Regions from separate parts of the Homo sapiens genome. Here region 2 is linked to region 1. Evidence: promoter capture Hi-C in human tissues and cell types (Jung and others, 2019). All regions are on one chromosome and are shown on one strand. Each heading gives the region's core, a stretch centred on a gene start or on the middle of the fragment in contact. The rest is flanking DNA. Distances are from core to core; before and after follow the strand shown. Region 1 holds the start of FOXC2 (forkhead box C2). Region 2 has its middle 87 kb from the start of C16orf95.

Region 1 (5,642 bases), core at 1,661-4,160:
CAATGCCCAGGAGTATCCACAAGGTGTCAGCACCTTCATGATAAGCAGGGCGGGCCGGGCGGTCTTTTTCTTTTTCCTTTTCTCGTAGTAGTTCCCTGGTTGGCCTCAAGATGACGCCAACACCCACGGAGTCCGCCCAGCCGCTCCAGGTGCAGCGGCCACGGGCCGGGAGGAGCGCAGCGCGGTGGGGGCGGAAGGCGAATTAAATACCTTTAGGCTTTATCGCCGCTTATTATTCCAGGAACACGCGAGGCCCTCTGGGACCCGATTCCGCGTTCGGCTCACTGACTTACAAGGTCAAGAAGGGGGAAAATCAGCCAGAAAGTAGCAGCCCCCCATCCGAAATACCCTGGCAGGTTAAAGAAAAGCTGGGAAATACGGTTTTTGCAAAGTCCAGGTGTATGGAAGGCGTTGTTTTAATAACCTGAACAAACATCTTTCCCGGAGTCCCACTGAGCAAACAAGAAACCTAATTCCAGGGGTAAAGGGAAGTGTCTCTCTCACCTTTTCTGTCTTGATGAGACGAATTTCTTTCCCCTCCCCTTTTCCTTTCTTTGGGGCGGGGGAGGGTGGATAATATATTGGGCGACTCGATTTAGGTGTTTGTTTGTTTGTTTGTTTGTTTCCCCAGATGACATTGGTTTAAACCGGGACACCCTTGTGAATACAAACGTAGGCAGCAACTGCCATTTTGGAATTTATTTTTTCATAGTCCTTAGCTATTTTAGGTTTTGCTGTGATAAAGCTGTTTCTCTCTCTCTCTCTCTCTCACACACACACACACACCCCTCGTAAAAGCAGAGTAAATAATATTCCTCCAGGAAGCCTACAGGCTGAGGAGTGTTTCTTGATCAATAGTTTGCATTTCCAGTAAAATCGTGACACGAACTCAGTGTGCCTGTCATGCGCTGCAGGAGAAGGGCACTTTTTGCTAGTCCTTTTTTTTTTTTAAGCTAGATGCGGAAATACTAGCTTATTAAAAATAATAAAGTCATGGTGGGAGTTTAGGGTTGGGGCAGAAAGCTCAAATCATTTGCCTGTGAGCTGAGAACTGGGCAGCTTTATTTTACTTTGTTTCAAAGAAAGAAGAAAAAGGATCAGGTTAGAAAAAGAGCCCAGAATACTCATAAAAACAATGTTTCAGAAGTGGAATATTCAAGGTAAAGGAACCTGATTTGTAGCTTCCCTTTGGCTTTGAATTGATCAGGAGACAAAGATAATGCATCTACATTTTCGTCTTCTGTTCTTTTATTGGAAATAAGTGGCACGCCCCATTGCCTTCTAGTCGCCTCCCCGAAGCGAAGAGGCCGAAGCGAAGAGGCCTGGTGGGTTGTCTCAACATCCTTTTGCTGAGAATCGAATACGCAGCCGATGAACAGCCAGGAAGGGTGCAAGGAAACCTGAAATACAAATGTTCTCCCTGAAGCCCTCTTCCCTGCCCAACCAGACCAGCAACTTCCAAAATTCTGCCCGTGTTTAGCCTTGTTAAAGGGGTGTCTCACTCCTTCAGGGAAAGTGGGAAAAGGGGATCTGATTATTGAGGTGTGGAAGGAATAAATAATCAGTCCACAAATAAACAAACTGTCCGGGATTCCTAGAGGGAAGGAGAAATCCTTGAAGGAGATCCAAGTCGCTCCAGGTCTGCCTGCCGAATAATATCATCCCGAAGGGATCTTGAACCGTTTGCAATCAACCGCTCACCCAGTCTTCCCACGGAGCGCGCTCCCTAACTCACCCTACCCACCCAACAAAACAAAAAAAAGGCTGAAATATAGAAAAGCAACTTGGAGGCTCCCAGGGGGACGTTGCCAGGAGCAGGAGGCAGGGACAGCGCCCTAGGGTCGGTGTTAGCGGCCGGCGCCGGCCTGGGCCACGGGAAACGTCCACGCTTGGTGCCCGCGGTGCGCGGCGCTCATTGCGCGCGCCTTCGAGCCAAGCCCCCGCGGAAAACAGGCTCGGGTTTCTCCTCGCAGGGCCCAGGAACTCGGCTCTGCCTGGCCCGGGTGGGTCGCTGCATTGTCCCGGTCTTCTGGGAGTGCGGGGTCAGCTTGTTAGAGGGAATTTCTACCTGGGAAAAGGGAGACGAGTTTCGAAGCTGAAGTTGGTAGGCTGCGAGTGTCCACGCGGGAGACGAAAGGGGGAAATAGCAGAGTCACTTCACCCTTTTCCCCAAACCCCACAAAACTGCTCGCAGCGACGCGGATGATCTACCGAATTCCCCGCGAATTCGGAGGATTAAGTTGTCAGTCAGCACGTTGCTACCTTCCCCTCTATGCACTCCGCTGCCTGGCTCCTCGGCGGGGAGCGAGGGAAACTCAGTTTGTAGGGTTTACCTCTAAAACCTCGATAGGTTATCCTTGACGACCCCGAGCCTGGAAACTCCCTGTTGATGATTAATTATTTGATTAAATAAGTATAACATCCAGGAGAGGCCCTGCCATTCCAATCCAGCGCGTTTGCTTTGAATCCATTACACCTGGGCCCCCATAATTAGGAAATCTAATTATTCGCTTCATCACTCATTAATAAGAAAAATGTCCCAGGATCATTGCTACTTACAAGGTCTTTGGGAGAGATATTTTACTCTATTAATCCATTCTATTTTATATTTCAAATTGATTTTTTTTAACAGAGGAAAGTGGCTATCTTTTTGTTTTGGGCATGTGGGCCCATTCACCAAAATGTGATCATAAAATAAATTTTAATAAGATATAACTTTTTAAAAAGTTTTCAAGTGAAGACGGAGTCGCCGCGGAGGCCGGGGCGGCGGGGTCTTAGAGCCGACGGATTCCTGCGCTCCTCGCCCCGATTGGCGCCGACTCCTCTCAGCTGCCGGGTGATTGGCTCAAAGTTCCGGGAGGGGGCGTGGCCCGAGGAAAGTAAAAACTCGCTTTCAGCAAGAAGACTTTTGAAACTTTTCCCAATCCCTAAAAGGGACTTGGCCTCTTTTTCTGGGCTCAGCGGGGCAGCCGCTCGGACCCCGGCGCGCTGACCCTCGGGGCTGCCGATTCGCTGGGGGCTTGGAGAGCCTCCTGCGCCCCTCCTCGCGCGGGCCGAGGGTCCACCTGGGTCCCCAGGCCGCGGCGTCTCCGCTGGGTCCGCGGCCGCCCGCCTGCCCGCGCTGCCGCCGCCGGGTCCTGGAGCCAGCGAGGAGCGGGGCCGGCGCTGCGCTTGCCCGGGGCGCGCCCTCCAGGATGCCGATCCGCCCGGTCCGCTGAAAGCGCGCGCCCCTGCTCGGCCCGAGCGCCGCCGCCCGCGCACCCTCGCCCCGGAGGCTGCCAGGAGCCCGGGGCCGCCCCTCCCGCTCCCCTCCTCTCCCCCTCTGGCTCTCTCGCGCTCTCTCGCTCTCAGGGCCCCCCTCGCTCCCCCGGCCGCAGTCCGTGCGCGAGGGCGCCGGCGAGCCGTCTCGGAAGCAGCATGCAGGCGCGCTACTCCGTGTCCGACCCCAACGCCCTGGGAGTGGTGCCCTACCTGAGCGAGCAGAATTACTACCGGGCTGCGGGCAGCTACGGCGGCATGGCCAGCCCCATGGGCGTCTATTCCGGCCACCCGGAGCAGTACAGCGCGGGGATGGGCCGCTCCTACGCGCCCTACCACCACCACCAGCCCGCGGCGCCTAAGGACCTGGTGAAGCCGCCCTACAGCTACATCGCGCTCATCACCATGGCCATCCAGAACGCGCCCGAGAAGAAGATCACCTTGAACGGCATCTACCAGTTCATCATGGACCGCTTCCCCTTCTACCGGGAGAACAAGCAGGGCTGGCAGAACAGCATCCGCCACAACCTCTCGCTCAACGAGTGCTTCGTCAAGGTGCCCCGCGACGACAAGAAGCCCGGCAAGGGCAGTTACTGGACCCTGGACCCGGACTCCTACAACATGTTCGAGAACGGCAGCTTCCTGCGGCGCCGGCGGCGCTTCAAAAAGAAGGACGTGTCCAAGGAGAAGGAGGAGCGGGCCCACCTCAAGGAGCCGCCCCCGGCGGCGTCCAAGGGCGCCCCGGCCACCCCCCACCTAGCGGACGCCCCCAAGGAGGCCGAGAAGAAGGTGGTGATCAAGAGCGAGGCGGCGTCCCCGGCGCTGCCGGTCATCACCAAGGTGGAGACGCTGAGCCCCGAGAGCGCGCTGCAGGGCAGCCCGCGCAGCGCGGCCTCCACGCCCGCCGGCTCCCCCGACGGCTCGCTGCCGGAGCACCACGCCGCGGCGCCCAACGGGCTGCCTGGCTTCAGCGTGGAGAACATCATGACCCTGCGAACGTCGCCGCCGGGCGGAGAGCTGAGCCCGGGGGCCGGACGCGCGGGCCTGGTGGTGCCGCCGCTGGCGCTGCCCTACGCCGCCGCGCCGCCCGCCGCCTACGGCCAGCCGTGCGCTCAGGGCCTGGAGGCCGGGGCCGCCGGGGGCTACCAGTGCAGCATGCGAGCGATGAGCCTGTACACCGGGGCCGAGCGGCCGGCGCACATGTGCGTCCCGCCCGCCCTGGACGAGGCCCTCTCGGACCACCCGAGCGGCCCCACGTCGCCCCTGAGCGCTCTCAACCTCGCCGCCGGCCAGGAGGGCGCGCTCGCCGCCACGGGCCACCACCACCAGCACCACGGCCACCACCACCCGCAGGCGCCGCCGCCCCCGCCGGCTCCCCAGCCCCAGCCGACGCCGCAGCCCGGGGCCGCCGCGGCGCAGGCGGCCTCCTGGTATCTCAACCACAGCGGGGACCTGAACCACCTCCCCGGCCACACGTTCGCGGCCCAGCAGCAAACTTTCCCCAACGTGCGGGAGATGTTCAACTCCCACCGGCTGGGGATTGAGAACTCGACCCTCGGGGAGTCCCAGGTGAGTGGCAATGCCAGCTGCCAGCTGCCCTACAGATCCACGCCGCCTCTCTATCGCCACGCAGCCCCCTACTCCTACGACTGCACGAAATACTGACGTGTCCCGGGACCTCCCCTCCCCGGCCCGCTCCGGCTTCGCTTCCCAGCCCCGACCCAACCAGACAATTAAGGGGCTGCAGAGACGCAAAAAAGAAACAAAACATGTCCACCAACCTTTTCTCAGACCCGGGAGCAGAGAGCGGGCACGCTAGCCCCCAGCCGTCTGTGAAGAGCGCAGGTAACTTTAATTCGCCGCCCCGTTTCTGGGATCCCAGGAAACCCCTCCAAAGGGACGCAGCCCAACAAAATGAGTATTGATCTTAAAATCCCCCTCCCCTACCAGGACGGCTGTGCTGTGCTCGACCTGAGCTTTCAAAAGTTAAGTTATGGACCAAATCCCATAGCGAGCCCCTAGTGACTTTCTGTAGGGGTCCCCATAGGTGTATGGGGGTCTCTATAGATAATATATGTGCTGTGTGTAATTTTAAATTTCTCCAACCGTGCTGTACAAATGTGTGGATTTGTAATCAGGCTATTTTGTTGTTGTTGTTGTTGTTCAGAGCCATTAATATAATATTTAAAGTTGAGTTCACTGGATAAGTTTTTCATCTTGCCCAACCATTTCTAACTGCCAAATTGAATTCAAGAAACCGATGTGGGTTTTGTTTCCTGTACAATTATGAGATATAATTCTTTTTCCCATTGTAGGTCTTTTACAAAACAAGAAAATAATTTATTTTTTTGTTGGTGGATAAAGAAGTCAAGTATCTGATACTT
Region 2 (5,642 bases), core at 1,081-3,580, 660 kb after region 1:
AAAGGCAGACTTTCCCATCTGCCTGGAGGTTGCTTTTGGGCCACAGCCATGGGAATCGCAGAGTGCATTTGGACATTCCGATGAGCTGCCCTGACAGACCGGCTTCGCCCCAGTGAGGGAGGAGTGCCAGAGTCGCTTTGCAGAGGCCGCAGCCCCCCCAGTAGCTCTGCTCCCCTCTCGGCCACCCCCAGGGCCTCCTGCTCTGCCTGGAGGTGGTGCGGCCTGAAAGGCCCACATCTGCTGCCCTGGCCCCGGAGATGTGTGTTCCCCACTGCCAAGGCCTGTGGTGCCAGCCCCACGTTGCAAGCCGGATTGTGGTGGTCTGCCTGTGTTTGTTGAAATTGGGCTGGGAGAAAGGGCCTCGCCGTCAAGATTCCCTGGAATGTGCACCCGAGTGCTAAGGAGACGGCTCAGTCAGCAAGCTCAGGAAATGGGGCCGAAGGCTGGGCCGGGGCCCAGATCTGGGCCATCGCGCAGGCTGCCTGGAACAGGCCGTCAGGGAGGGAGAGCCAAGGGACCGCCAGGACAGAGGTTGTTTTTGTGTTGATATCGTCCTACTCTCAGTTTGCAGCTTGGGGCTTTCATTACCTTGACCAAGTAGAAAATCAAGTCAAAAGAGTTGATTTTCCTATTTGACACCTAGGGCTTTTTCCAAAAGGAAAACTGAATGGTGCAGAATTTCTGGAGGCTGGTAGCATATTCTCTTTTGTTCCCAAAGTGCAATGTCTAAACCCCTGTCTTAAAATAACAATAGCAACATGAGTAGGAATGAAAGACGTTCCCATTACTTGAGCAGCTACTATACAGAGAGACTGCCCTGCAGGTGATATTCAAAATACTCAATAACCACACGCAGTAGCAGATCAGAACTTACTGGAACTGGTCTCAGCAGCCCTCTCCCCGGCTATGCCAGGCGTTACCCCCTTAATTGCTGGATTATGAGGACATCTGGAGGGGAGACACTGGGGAATGGCTGCTGCAAAAGGAAGGCCCAGGACCTCAGGGCAGAGGTTATTTTCAAACAAGTGTGGTAAAATCCAATCTTTTCGCCACAGTCATGGTAAGATGCCTTGCATCTGAGTGTCTGCCCCAGGGTAAAGCACCTGGGCAAGATGATCGCCAAACACCCCAAATGACTCCACCCACCCTGTACACAGGAGCCCCTGGCCACCCATCGAAAGTTGAGATTGCACCCCTGCCCTTGACTCTGGGCTGGGCCTGCTTGGCCAATGGAACGCAGAGGAAGCGACCTTTGGGTCTTCCACGGCAGGTATTAAAAGGACCTGGCAGTGTCGCTTCCTCTCTCGGAGAGTCAGGCAAGAAATCCAGGTCATGCCATTGGAGGGAACAGCCACATGGATTATCCCTAGAGAGAGAGGCCACTCCTGCCACAGCCACAGCCACCACCTCACGGCAATCTCATGAGAGACCCCAAGACAGACAGTGGGAGAACCACCAGCCAAGCCCCACTGGCTCACAGAATCACGAGACACAATTCAAGGTTGTCGTTATAAGCCTTTGTGTTTTGGGATGGCTTGTCGCCCAGCACAGAGGGCCAGACAGCACCTGACATACGTCCCCTTCTTTACCATCACATCTGTGAGGTGGACATCATGATACCCATTTTACAGACTCCAAATAATGATGTTGTCCAAAACCACACTAAATACTCGAGACCAGCCTAACCAGTACCGTGGACCCCTAAAACATCCTAATTTACAGACAAACCCACAAGTTCCCTCGGACCCTCACTGTCAGACCCTCCACTCTTTATCAGATCTTCAGAAAGCACCAGCTGTGTCTCAGGATTTCTGCGTGTGGTCTTGTCAACCTTCTTCTGCCCATTAGGGCTTCTTGGACCCATGTGAGCTGGCCCCGAATTGTCAGAAGAACTGAGGAACCCACTGCTGTCGCCCACTGTAGCCTCCGCTATCAATGCCTCCAGCCCTTGGGGAGCGTCACTCTACTCACCCCCTGGGCCTCCTCCCAGCAAAGCTCTTCCTGCCCCCACCGTGCGCCAATTCTGGGCACATTCAGCTCCTGGGAGGCTTCTCAAGATGACATTGCCATTCCCGGACCTCCACCCAGCCCAAGTGGAAGAGCAGCCATGCAGTCAGCCGAGCCCATTCTTCACGCCTTACAGATGCACTCCACACTCTGCAGGCTTCCTCTGAGAAACCAAGGCATTGTATAATACAGGAGCTTTATTCCTGTCGGTGCTAATGGAATTGGGGTGGGGGAAATGCTCATTTTTTTCTGCTGCGAAGTACTTTTCCATATTTCTCTGTCTTTGTTATGAAATCTCCCCAGTGATATTAGCTAATTATTCAAAATAAAATTTCCCACTCCAGCTGAATTCCTCCCACCAGAGGGTCAAGTGTTTTTATTCCTGCTGTGCAGTGGTTAGTCACTGGCCCAGCTCTCCCCTCGGCCCTCATCAGGGTGATGGATGCCCAGCGTGAACAATGACAGGCAGGAGAGAAGGAGGGGAGCGTGCACGCCCCCATCCATCCTGTTTCTGCTGGCTCCATTCCCCTGCCTCCCTGTCCTTGCCCTTCAAGACTCTGCTCAGCTTCCCCTTCTTCCAGGAAGCCCTCAGGGAGCTCTCTCCCATCTCCATCCAATGAAGATACCTTAAGATACCGCTCATATAGCCCTAACCTCCTGTCTCTAATCTAATCTTTCTAAGTTTTGTTTTCTCAGCTATTTCCTAAGCTCCAAAATCCCATACCTCATGTTTTTCTTGTAGACAGTATCAGCGTCATCACAATTCAGCGGCTGCCCTGTGTTCAGACACTCGGCCCTGTGCTTCATGTGGGTTGCCTCATTTCATAATAGATACAACGATGTCCCCAGTCTGCAGAAGATGAGGCTCCAAAAAGGTGAGCCACAAGGTGTAGCTGGGTTGTGAGCTCAGGTAGCCCAAGTTCAGAGCCTGTGTCACTAACTATATTAGTAATTAACCTATGGCCTTTATTGAGCATCACAAATCAGAAGGAGAAAAAGTGAAAGAGCACATTTTATTGCAAATGGGCAATAAAGAAAAAGATAATGGTTTGGTGGTAATACTGAACACTGGACAAGATATACAAAGACAGGCCCTCTACTGCATTGCTTGTGGTGGTCACCACTTATACAAACATCCTAGTATTTGCTTGGATGGCATAGTACAGGTATCCTAAAATTAGCCCAAAGGTTTTACTCAATAATTCCTGCTGCGGAATAGCCCCTAAGGAAACGAGCACAATGTGGATAAAGATTTATACACAAGGCTGTTCTTGCAGCATGACTTCCAATAGCAAATACTTGGAAACAATCTCAATGAACAGCAATACGTATGACATGTGGAAATCTGGCTGGTGTTTACTTTCTTCTTTCCTTTTCTGTACTTTCCAAATTCCTTCAAAATGCATGTACTTCTTACATGATCGGAGGAAAACTCAACCACATTTTTAAGGCTGGGCAGGGACATAGCCCACTTCATTAGCATCAGAGAGGACAATTTTATGGAGGACATTCTGGCAGCACATGTTCCAACAGAACAATTCTCCTTCTAAGACCACATTTGACACAAATCCTCACAAAAATGCACCAAGGTATATGTGCAAGGACATTCACTGAAGCACGACTTGTAATAGCAAAAGGCTCAAATCAATCTAAAAGTTTACCCAAAGGGAATGGTGAAATAAATCATGGTACATCCATACAAAGGCATACGGTGAAGTTAAAAAGAAAGAAATGCAGCTAGAACATGAAGGATTGGCCATGACATTGCTCAGAGAAAAAGCCACATTGCAGATCCATGTGTGTAGTATAATCCTATTTGTGTAAAAAAAGTATAAAGGTATGTGATTGTTTATACAGACATTAGAAAGTCTAGAAGGATTTACATCAAACTCTTAGACAGTGGTTACCTGAAAGGGAAACTAACTGGAAGAATTAGACACTTTAATGTTTTACTTTGCTTTTATATTGTTTGAATCATTTCCAAGAGCGGTACTGCTTTAGGCAAGTAAACAAGTCCTTTATTTACTTTTTCTTATGGAAAAATTCAAATACATGCAACCATACAAACAGCAATGTAACAAACCCCAGTGTGCCTCTCCCCAGCTTCCAGCCTTGCCAGTGATCAACTCCTGTCCAATCCTGTTTCACCCCTACGCTATCCACCCAGATTACGGTGCCACTGTCACACTCAAACATAACAGTAGTTTCTTAATGCTATCAAGTTTCTAGGCAGTGTTCTAATTTCCAGTCCCTCGTAACATTATGAATTATTTTTAACAGTTCAAATCAGAATCCAAATAAAGGCCCCAAGTTATAATAGCTTGATATGACTTTTAAGTCTTTTTCTTACATGGATTATTCATTCTCTCTCTCTCTGTGAGTTTGTGTGTGTGTGTGTGCATGTATCTGTGTGTGTGTATATATATATGTGTGTATATATATACGTGTATATATGTGTGTGTATATATATGTGTGTGTATATATATGTATATATATGTGTGTATATATGTGTGTGTATATATATATATATATATATATATATTTGGAGAGAGAGAGAAGTGTTAAAGAAACCAGGACATTTGTCCAACAGGGTCTCCCCATAGTCTAAGTGCAGCTGGCTGCATCATCATAGTGTCATTTAACTTGTGCTTCTGTCCTTCATGTTTCCTGAAAATTGGTGGTTGGATCAGGAGGCCCAGTTAGGTTCAGGGCTGAGGTTTTGGGCAAGGTTGCTTCATGAGCCATGGTGTGCTTTGCCATCAAGAGTCTCTGGTCTCTTGTGTCGTGATGCTAGCAGTGTTGATGCTCCATGCTAAGCCACTGGTTTATTCTGGAGATGTGTTAAACATCACTCCCATGCACTGTTCAGCATGAAACCAGGGTCTCTTCACTGAGCAAAGGCTGACACAGCAGGTGCATGTGGTGCTGTAATCACCTTGGTGGCCACTCTTATCAACTTGAGGTCTTTGCTCTTAAGTCCCTTCAGCTTGATCAGACAGCCCCCAAGAGTGTGGGGTGGCACATACACAACATCGTCAGTGTGCCTCTTGCTAATCACTCGACCTGTCTGAGCCTCCATAACACAGAACAACACCCTCTCCTTGCACTTACCCTATGAAAGTGCTTTGGAAACTGAAGGCTGAAGCACAGTGGGGAAGTGTGGAAGGAAGGTCTTATTTACACAGGTGTTTCACTCCTCACACTGAGGCAACCCAGTTGAATGGATAAGCTTGCAGACCCTCAAGCAAAATGGGAGACCACCTGGGCTCTAATGGGGACTTCCTCGCTTTTTGGTTGTATAACCCAGGGCAAGTTATTCACCCTCTCTGTGCCTCAGTTTCCCTGCTGTTAAATGGCAATAACAAGATCAGCGACGTCACAGAGGGGTAGCAAGAATTGGATTAGGTAATGTGCATAAATTGCTTAGGACAAGACCAGCACATCACGCGCTGGCTTCCATTACATGACCTTTGACGGTTTCACCTACAAATGAATCCCAGTGAGCACAAGAAGGACTAGCAACCATGCAACTTCTTGCATGGTGATTTAAGAAGTGCTTTGTTCTGGAATCAGCCATCATGGTGGTCCTGCTTCCTAGCTTTGCTGCCTTAGACAAGTTACTTCACCTCTCCCAG

What was found. The method cuts DNA at HindIII sites, captures the fragments that hold promoters and counts their contacts. A contact is called where the count stands out against the background at its distance.
Region 2: a contact is called between a fragment that was not itself captured here and the fragment with the promoter of FOXC2 in region 1, in 1 of the 25 tissues and cell types used here (lymphoblastoid cells).

The regions. Positions count from the first base shown.
Region 1 is chr16:86,563,919-86,569,560 of GRCh38, forward strand. FOXC2 (forkhead box C2) reads left to right here and starts at 2,911. Exons shown (of 1, transcript NM_005251.3): 1 at 2,911-5,642. The coding sequence starts at 3,418. The coding sequence ends at 4,923. FOXC2-AS1 (FOXC2 antisense RNA 1) reads right to left here and starts at 3,843. Exons shown (of 2, transcript NR_125795.1): 1 at 3,699-3,843; 2 at 1,227-1,400. RefSeq lists enhancers at 3,046-3,630, 3,631-4,214. The HindIII fragment of the contact is 12,739 bases long and covers 1-5,642 here.
Region 2 is chr16:87,227,419-87,233,060 of GRCh38, forward strand. No RefSeq gene overlaps it. Among named protein-coding and RNA genes, the nearest start is that of C16orf95, 87 kb to the right of the region's middle. The HindIII fragment of the contact is 7,930 bases long and covers 1-5,642 here.